3 separate regions of the Homo sapiens genome follow, and regions 1 and 3 are each linked to region 2. The links are contacts of gene promoters, found by promoter capture Hi-C in human tissues and cell types (Jung and others, 2019). All regions are on one chromosome and are shown on one strand. Each heading gives the region's core, a stretch centred on a gene start or on the middle of the fragment in contact. The rest is flanking DNA. Distances are from core to core; before and after follow the strand shown.

Evidence for each region. Contacts are between HindIII fragments. The study calls those that stand out against the background at their distance.
Region 1: a contact is called between a fragment that was not itself captured here and the fragment with the promoter of PGF in region 2, in 1 of the 25 tissues and cell types used here (IMR-90 fibroblasts).
Region 3: a fragment that was not itself captured here is called in contact with the fragment with the promoter of PGF in region 2 in 1 of the 25 tissues and cell types used here (bladder).

The regions. Positions count from the first base shown.
Region 1 is chr14:75,494,283-75,497,347 of GRCh38, forward strand. No RefSeq gene overlaps it. Among named protein-coding and RNA genes, the nearest start is that of BATF, 27 kb to the right of the region's middle. RefSeq lists an enhancer at 2,849-2,908. The HindIII fragment of the contact is 3,218 bases long and covers 1-2,933 here.
Region 2 is chr14:74,954,166-74,957,258 of GRCh38, forward strand. It overlaps PGF (placental growth factor), which reads right to left and starts at 1,432. Exons shown (of 7, transcript NM_002632.6): 1 at 1,003-1,432. The coding sequence starts at 1,077. RefSeq lists silencers at 1,229-1,298, 1,479-1,578. The HindIII fragment of the contact is 10,779 bases long and covers 1-3,093 here.
Region 3 is chr14:75,530,191-75,533,265 of GRCh38, forward strand. The region is part of intron 2 of BATF (basic leucine zipper ATF-like transcription factor); the gene reads left to right. Among named protein-coding and RNA genes, the nearest start is that of BATF, 9.3 kb to the left of the region's middle. The HindIII fragment of the contact is 4,289 bases long and covers 1-3,075 here.

The sequences.
Region 1 (3,065 bases), core at 75-2,574, 540 kb after region 2:
TACATGTGCCCTATTATTCCACAACTAGGGGAGCCAGCCCCTGTCCATGTGGTCATTTTGGGGGTGGGGATGGGGCAAGGTGGTCTCATTATAGCTGAGACCTTTTCTTTTCTTTTCTTTCTTTCTTTTTTTTTTTTTTTTTTTGAGACAAAGTCTCACTCTGTCCCCCAGGCTGGAGTGCAGTAGCGTGATCTCGGCTCACCGCAAGCTCCATCTCCCGGGTTCACGCCATTCTCCTGCTTCAGCCTCCCAAGTAGCTGAGACTACAGGTGCCCGCCACCATGCCTGGCTAATTTTTTGTATTTTTAGTAGAGACGGGGTTTCACCGTGTTAGCCAGGATGGTCAGCTGAGACCTTTTCTGGCCTGAGTGCATGGTAGCAGGCCATGCTGATGTCACCTTTCTTGAAAGATGGGGAGATTCCAACACCCCATCTTCCCATCCCCATGATGCCCAAAGGGTCCCTGGGAATCTCAGCTCAGTTGTCCTCTCATTGTGTGTCATGGGAGAAGCGACCTTTAGATGTTCGCACAGGTGAATCAAAGTGCTGGACCCTTCCTCTACCATGCTGCAGAGAAGGGGTGGTGTTGGGGAATATTAAGTGGTGCATCTCTGCATAGCTAAAAGGCTGAGCTGGAGCATGGGCCACCGGGGCATGTGTGGTTTTGCTGAGCTTCCATTCTCTGGCCAGTGAAATGAAGTCTGTGAACATGGCGGTCATGGAGCTAAGTGATTCTTGGCTTTGGGAAGGAAATTGGCGATGTCACCGGACATTTGCCCCAAAGACTTGTCACATGATGTGAGACCTCTTTGCCTCTGAGTCACATTCTGAATCACAGGATATGGCCATATTAATGATGGCAGAGGCTGCCATTAACCAAGTGCACCCAAGCTGTAAATTCATGGAATCCTCCAAACAGCTCCATGATACATATACTGGTAATATCTTCATTTTTCAGGTGAGAAAATTAAGATGCGGAAAGATTAAATAATTTGCCTAAAGGCACATGGTTTGCAAGGGGTGGAGCTGTGATTCAATTCAGTCGTCTGATTCTAGCTTCCCCCATCCTTTTTGGAGGAGGGAAGTATCATAAAACTGTTGATTTCATTTAACAGAATTTTAAATGAAGTCTCTGCGTAGATGAACATAAGAGATAGCTAAAATCTCAATGTGAAAGGATATCCTTTCATAGAGTTTCTGAGTTTCAAGGTCCTTCCAACTGCTGACATTTGACATTTGACACCTTGAGATTTTGTCTACAGAAAGTAGCAACATCATCCTTATACAAAGACCCAACTGCGTGAGGTTGTAGTTCCGAGAGTTTCAAAATTAGTTTATTTTCTTTGTGTCAAATTTCAGTGCCATTTTCTTCCTCATTACCTCCTCCCCTCACCCTTTTCCCCTTCTCCTTTTTCTTTTTTCCCCTCCCTCTTCCTCCTCTTCCTCTACCTCTTCTTCTTTCTCTTTTCTTCTTCTATAAATTATCAAGCTATTTGAAAACACTTAGGACCTCTGTTCATTTCTCTTCATACATTAAGGTAATAGAAATTGGCCGACTTCCAGTCCCACAACAACCCTAGGGGTCACCTGATATTATTGATGGGAATTTAGCCAACACCATAATTTCAAGTTTGGCAACCATATGGGTAACAGCAAAAGAAGCTGAAAGCTTAAATTTTCCGGAGTGGTAGAATTTGTTCCAGAATGCCGGTCAAGATCCCAAATGTAGGTAGGAAAACATAGATGTCATTTGGGTTGTCCAGAGCTGGCAAGCTTCCAAATGTGCAAAACCACGGGAGGTGGGAGGTCTTCTGCTTTTGCAAAGCTTATAATACCACAGGAAGCAGCCAGACAGTCCACTCTAGAACATTCTGCCAATGAGAAGATACTGCAGAGCATGGATAAGTCACCTTTTGAGAGCCCATGCTCCTAACCAATCTGCCGTGTTGCATTTTCACTTTGAACCACGATAAGACCATTGGAAATTAGGAAAGGAATCATGTTGCCCCGACTTTTCATTCTGAAGAAGTTCTAAGGAGTTGGAGATAACATTTTTCATAGACTCTTAAAGTTTTAAGCCTCCCTAAAGGCTTCCCTAGAGTAGATCAAGCATCCTCAGCCTACAGATGAGGCCACTGAGGCTGGACCAACGGCATCTTCAGGGTCACACAGCTAGTTAGTGGCAAAGCCAGAACCAGGTCCCTAGTGATGGATTCTCAGTCCCTGGTTCTCTCTGCCACACCACATCATGTCCCTCTCAACACCAAAGCTGGAGTGGTGAGAAAAGGCTTCACAGAGGAGGAGGAGGAGGAACGTGATCTAGGCCTTGAGGGATGGGGTGTGGGTGGGCTCGAAGGAGGGGCCAGGCTTTCTAATGCCACTTTAGTTTCCTTTGTGACATTCCCAAGGGATTGTTAGCTCCTTCAAGGTAAGTAGGTCTCCCACCTTCTGCCCTATTGCAGAGTTCCTGGCATGAGGTGGACACAAAACCCTAACCCTCTTCTCCAGGGAGTGAAACTCCTTATTTTTAAGACATTTGCCAAAGCATCGGGCCCTGAATAGAAACTCAGCTTCTATTTTTCTGCTTCCTTCTTTACTTCCTACAGATGACACTTTTGAGAGCGTGCTCTCAACTACAGTCCCCTCAGCCCCTGTCTGTGGGAGCTGTCCAGCGCCCTCTGTAAGAGTGGGCTCTGGCAGCCATGTTTGTAAGACCCCCAATGAGTGACTGAGGGGCCCAGGAGTAGACTCTTGACTCAAAGTAGACTCATGAGAGTCCCTCTCCCAGTTTGGAATTTTGACTTTGAGGGGCTTCTCAGACTCCTCTGATGGCTTGGACTGAGGCAATATTGGCTCGAGGAGCTGGGGGGTGTCCATCCTCAGACACGTGGGGAAGGCCTGTGCGGAAATGGAGGGAGATGAGCAGAAGCAGGGGAGCTGCAGTGATGAGAAACCCTGAGAAGCCAGCCACCCTGGGCCTCTGGAGGTCCCTGCCCAGAGGAGGCCTTCAGCTCTTTTGAAGGCCTCTTTTCCAGTCACAGCAGAAGGACGGTCTGCTGCCTGGA
Region 2 (3,093 bases), core at 182-2,681:
AAAAGGATGGGAGGCTAGAAGCTTTTGGAGACCCTTGGCCTGCTGCATCCCAAAGATCTTCCAATCCTGCGGGTCTGCCTTCTACCCAGCCCCCAGGCCAACCCTGCTGGGCCCTGCACAGCCCGCCTTGGCTGGGTGCCAGAGCCCAGGGGGAGGTGATCAGCTGGTGGGAGCTGAGGGGCTGGAGCGGGTGGCGCCATGAGCTGGTGCAGCCGGTAACGTTACACCTCTGGCCAGCCCTGCAGCAGGCAGGCGGGTGGCTGGGCTGCTCGGACTCCTCAGGGACTGCCCAGCCCACTCCTACTCTTGGGCTGGGGCTGGGGACTCCCAGGGCAGTGGGACAACGCAGTGGGAAGGCAGTTCATTGGCTTTGTCAGGATTTCACTGCCCAAGCTGGCTCCCAGCCAGACTCACCCGGCTCCTGGGAAAAGGGCCCTGCTCACTTCCCCAGGCCCTGCACTCAGGACCTCCGGCCACCCACCCAGGAGAAAAGGCACAGCGAGACCCCTTGTCTCGTCCCCAGCCCACCCAGGAGCCCACGGCTCAGTCCTGAGCCCTGGTGGGGGCAGGGCCAGCCTCCCCACCAACAGCTTCTTCAGCTGGCTCCTCCGCCACCCCCACCAGGCCAGGTCAGAGGTCCTGGGGACGCCTGGTTGGCCATGGGGCCTCGACCCTGACCACAAGGCCAGGGACCCGCCTGGGATTAGTGGACAGATGCTTTTAGCAAAGCCACCAGGGCTCCAGGGGCCAGACAGGAAACCTCCCTCCCTCCCTCCCTCCCTGTGGCTTCCCTGCCCCCACCAAGACAGCCCCCAGGACCTGGGGGACAGCCAGCCTGAGGTCTCTTCCCAAACGAAAGAAGTCCAGCCTGGCCTTTAGGAAGTGTGTGGACATCCTTGGAGTTGCTGCTCCCTGGAGTGGGTCTGTGATTTCAGAGTCCCATGCTTCCAGTGCTGGGATGGGGAGGTCTGGGGAGCCAGGCTAGGTGGGGGTAGCTCTTACCTGGGGGGGCACAGCAGGCAGCGCCAGCCCGGCCAGGAGCTGCAGGAAGCAAGGGAACAGCCTCATGACCGGCATCTTCTCAGACGTCCCGAGCCAGGGGGCTCCGAGGGAAAACCACCATGCTCATCCCCCGGGGAGCCCCTGGCACAGGAGGAGAAGAGCTGAGTGGGGGGCTGGACGCCTCCCTCACTGCTGCCCCGAGGCCCCGGCCGGTGGTTCGAGCATCTTCTGGAAGCCTTGCGGAGTCAGGAGCCCGTAGGTAAGGCTGTGGCTGGGGAACCCGACGGGGAGCGGCCCGGCGGGGCGGGGCGCCGAGGGGCAGGCGGGTCCCGGGGATGGTCCGTCGGGCGCCCAGTGCCACTCCAGGTCCTCCCGTAGCTGGGCGGCCGTCCGTCGATGCAGTTTCCTCCGCAGACAGCAGCTCCCTTCTGAGACTGCAGCCGGTCCGCGCCTGGGTTTCAGGGACTGAGCCGGGGCGGGGCTCCGGGCCGGCCCCGCCCACCGCAGACGAGGTTCCCGAGCCGAGTTCCCGGAGCGCCCGGTCAGCCCGCAGCGCCCGGCCAGCCCGCAGCGCCGGAGCCCGCAGTGCGTGCGAGGGGCTCTCGGCAGGTCCAGACGCCTCGCCGAGCCCAGCCCGCAGCTCCCCGGGCCGCGCCGCGCCCGCCCACAGGGCCCACAGCCCTGCTTCGGCTCTCAGGGCGGTCACCTGGGATGGGGGCATCCAGGAGTCCAGCGTCAGCCGTCAAGGCTCATGATCTAACCGCCTCTGCAGGAAGGGCCGTCCGGGATGCCTGGGAAGGCAGCCATGCCCACACCCCTAGGGGGCCAAGGGATTCCTAGCCAGGTTATATAGATGAAGAAACCGAGGCTCCGAGAGCACCCCTGCCTGCATATGTCGAATGGACATAGGCATTCTTGGAAAGTGTGTGTGTGTTGTGTGTGTGCGCGCATCTGTGTGTCCGAGGAACTGGCAGAGACAAAACCCAAGCCTACGTGACTCCAGAACTCTAACCCGACCTACCACCCTCCTAGCCAGGCACGGACACAGTGGGCCTCCCACAGGAAACCTCTCAGGGCACCTGGCTGGAGGATCAGGCCTGTTGCCTCCTTGGGAAGCAGTCTTCCCAGGCCCTCCCTGCGGGGCAGCCCCCTGTGGTAGAGAGTGGTCTCACTCAGGCATCTCCTCCTGGTCCCTGGCCGAGGAGGAACTGTACGCTGCGCGGGGGTCTGTGTGCATCTGCGCGTGTGCATGGGCATTTGCGGGTCTGTGAATATCCATGAGCGGTGCATCTGAGCCTCTGTGTGGTCTGAGTACGTGTGACTACTGTACCTCCAAATACGCCTCTGTGTGGGGGTCAGGTCTCTCTGTATCTCTGTATGCTTGTGTGATCTGTTCGTGTCCGCTGTGTATCTGGGTGTGTTTGGAAGTGTCTGAATGTGTATCTTTCGGTGGGACTGTGAGTCTGCACGCCTGCCTGTCTCTGCGTGTGTGTGTCTGTCTCTGTGGGTGAAGACTGTGCCTCTCTCTCTGCGTTTGTGTGTGCCCTCCCTTGGTTCTGGATCTTTCTTTACCACCACTCCTCTCACTGCCTTCTGTGTCCAGCTCCCAGGCTGCAGGAACCTGGCAGGACTGGGAGTCACGAGTTGGCTGGGCCTGGGGCTGGTGGGTGGCTGTGGGGGAGGAGCGAGGCCTGGGAAGTGGCCCCTACAGCTCACATTCCAGCCAAGAGCAGGGAGGCCAGGGCAGCCCCAGCTCTCACCCCAGTGACCTCTGCGTCCACTGCCTGCCTGCCTGCCCACCCACGAGGGGCTGCCAGAGATGCAGCCTGCCTGCCTGGCCGGCCCTAAGCCTGGAGGTTCAGGAGGCGGGGGCCAGTCACCAGCTGGCTAAGCGGGGTCTGCAAGGAACATCCTGACGAGCTTCAAACAAGCTGGGGTTCGTGGGGTAGACAAACTGCTTCCTGGGCCCAGAATCATTGTGGAGGGTCACTGTGCATGTGTGTGAGGGTGAGTAGGTGTGTGTTTGTGCATATATGTATTGTATATGTTGCCCATAACATCTTTGTATACATACACGTGTTTGTGTGTGTC
Region 3 (3,075 bases), core at 359-2,858, 580 kb after region 2:
TTAAAGCAGCAGTGAGGCTGGCAAAGATGAAACATGTTGTTGATACACGATGTTGCCAAGGTAATGGAGAAGCAGGCACCATCACACACAGCTAGTAGTAGAGTCTGCATAACCCTGGTAGAAGGCAATTTGCCCACGTCCATTCAAATTATAGGTGCACATACCCTGCGACTCAGCAATTTGACATCCAGGAGTGTGTTCACAAACAAATCCACACATCATACAATTCTGTACATGTAAAGATAATCATTGCTGCATTGTTTCTTATAGGAAAGACTGAACATAAGCTAAAAAAATCCACCAATAAGGGATTCAATAAATTATTGTCCATTCTGTGGAATATTGCAGATATGTTAAAATAATGAGTTACATCTGAATGTGCTAATCTGGAAGGATTATCACTTCTGTACTTTAAGTTAAAAAGGCATAAATATAGTCCATAGTTTGCTACCATTAGTTTTTTAATTTAATGTTTTATTTATTTATTTATTTTTTATTTTTAGAGACAGGGTCTCACTATGTTGCCCAGGCTGGTCTCGAACTCCTGAGCTCAAGTGATCTGCCCTGCCCACCTTGGCCTCCCAAAGTGCTGGGATTACAGGTGTGAGCAACAGCACCCAGCCCCTTCTGTGTTTTTAATAAAAAGAAAAAGTTACATATATGCATAAGTATAAATGCAAACTTTTTCAAATAGATTATAAAAAATTGTTAATGATATTTATTTCTGAAAAGTAGGACTAAAGATCTAAAGCAAGAGGGAGATACTTGGCATTCTTTACCTTTTATACAGTTTGGGATTTTTTATCACATGCTTTTATCTTTATAATATAGATATCAAAATTCTCAGCATTGATCATTACCACACATGCATTAGGAGGATTTCTTTTCTAATTTTGACATCAAACATTGAATAATCTTCCATCACGACATGGAAGAGTATTCAATCTTGACGTTATCTTTTGAACATCATACATAAATATCTCAGCCCTTGGGAGAACCAACTGTAAGTTGGGATTTGAGTGACTCTAAGGTCCACAGTACTATATGATAAAAGATGGCAAATCCGTTTCCTTTGTGTAGCCATCTTGGTTGGTTGGTCATGGCTATCTGGTGCCGTACAGCTGGAAGGATTTCAAGTCAAAGACCAGGATCAGTGGAAAAGAGAGCTGAGGTCAATTAAGAAGCTTTATTCATGAAAAGGCTAAAATCAGTGGAGTTGCCGGGAGCAGTGGCAAATAGCAGTGTTAGCCCTGAGCCGAGCTGTTGACAAGTCATATCTGGCCTGGTGGATGGAGCTGAAAGCAAGTGAGAGTAACAGCCAAGTTTGAAAGCTTGAGATTTAGGTACTGTCTTAGATGGAAGTGGGCCAGGTGCTTGCCTGGGGCTGCCTCCTGAAGGAGTCTCACACCAGTATAAGAAAAAAGAGAGGTTTACAGGCTCCAGGGATGTGCTTTGTCATATATGACAGAAAAGTCATGAGTATAAATTATGCATTAAATGAAGCTTTGAGCTAACACTGTGAGAAATACGGTATTTACAATTGGAGAAAAATTGAGTAATGGAGGAAAAGATGTTTGGGTAGCACTATTGTTCTTGGCCTTCTGAGGAGGCAGAGAAGGATGCTTACGGTCCTATTTCACTCCTGGAATTCTTTTGCTCTCTCTGGGAGACCATGCCATAATGTTTGTTGGCACAGATAAGTCACAGGTCAGGAATGTTCAGGCTAGTTCCACCCTTAAAAAGTTCAATGTAGAATCAGTGAACCATCTATGGAAAGAGATGCGACCCTTCTGTCTCCATTGCTATGAATTTCTTTTAAGAAAAAACCATGTTAATTGAACAAACGACTATGTATTAACCACTGTGCCTCAAGTGCTCTCCCTGCAGCATCTCATTTAATCTGCATAAAAGCTGTATTTTATAATTCCTTGCATTAAGTAACTTGATGGAGATGACACAGCTTGTGACTAGGTCTGTCTGACGTCAGAACCCATTTTCCTAACCATTAAGTTTTACTGCCTCTTTCTTCAAACTCTGATGAAGATGTATTCATCTTCCCTAACCTATATTTTCCTTGAATCTCTACATGAATTAATTTTTTTGTCTTTTAAGCAATATCCTCCAAAATCTACACTGTCCCCCAGCCATCATCAGGCGTGATCAAGAAAGTAAAGACATGTTTACTTTCAATACAGTATATCCATTGTACAATTGATATCATATATGTCATATATATCATGATATCAACATATATAGATAGGTACTATATATAGATAGATACAATTGGTATATCAAATGATACAATATGTCAATTGAAATCTTTTTTGAGAAGTCTGTGTAGCAATAAATGTTAACATCTTTCACAGGAATTACCTTTGACACAACAGAGTTTGAAGAAAAAATAATTTACAAAGATGCTTAGTTCATCATTATCTGTGAATAGTAAATACTTTAACAATGCTATAAAACTTGACAGGGGGCTTACAACAGAAGATGAAGCATATTATGATACATTCATACAATAAAAAAATTTATGCTGGTACTAAAAATGATTATGTAGATCTGTATTTATCAGCATAGAAAGATGTCAGTGATACAGCATTAAGTGAAAAAGGCAAATTACAAAGAGCATGCAGAGTATAACCCTTTCACGTAAAATTTGTGGGTTTTGGGCATGGTCGCATGCATAAAGAGATATCCGGAAGGATATTCTCCAAAATGCTAATAGCAGTTATGAGTGGTTGAGTTTGGGTAGTTCATCTTATTCTTGGTACTTTTCTCTCTTTTTTATTATAATGAATGTGTGCCATTTTAAAAATCAGAATTTTAAAAATTAGGCTATTTTCATTTGGGGAGGGAAAACACATCAAGGAAATCCACCACCCCTAACTGCTTGTCTTACCGATGACGGGTCGGCATGGCTAAGTTTGGGAGGCATATTGGAAATTGGGAGTCCAGCTCCATGCTGGTGTTGATGCTGTAAAGAACGACTGTTTGGGAGGCCAAGGTGGGCAGATCATGAGGTCAGGAGACTGAGACCATCCTGGCCAACACAGTGAAACCCTGTCTCTACTA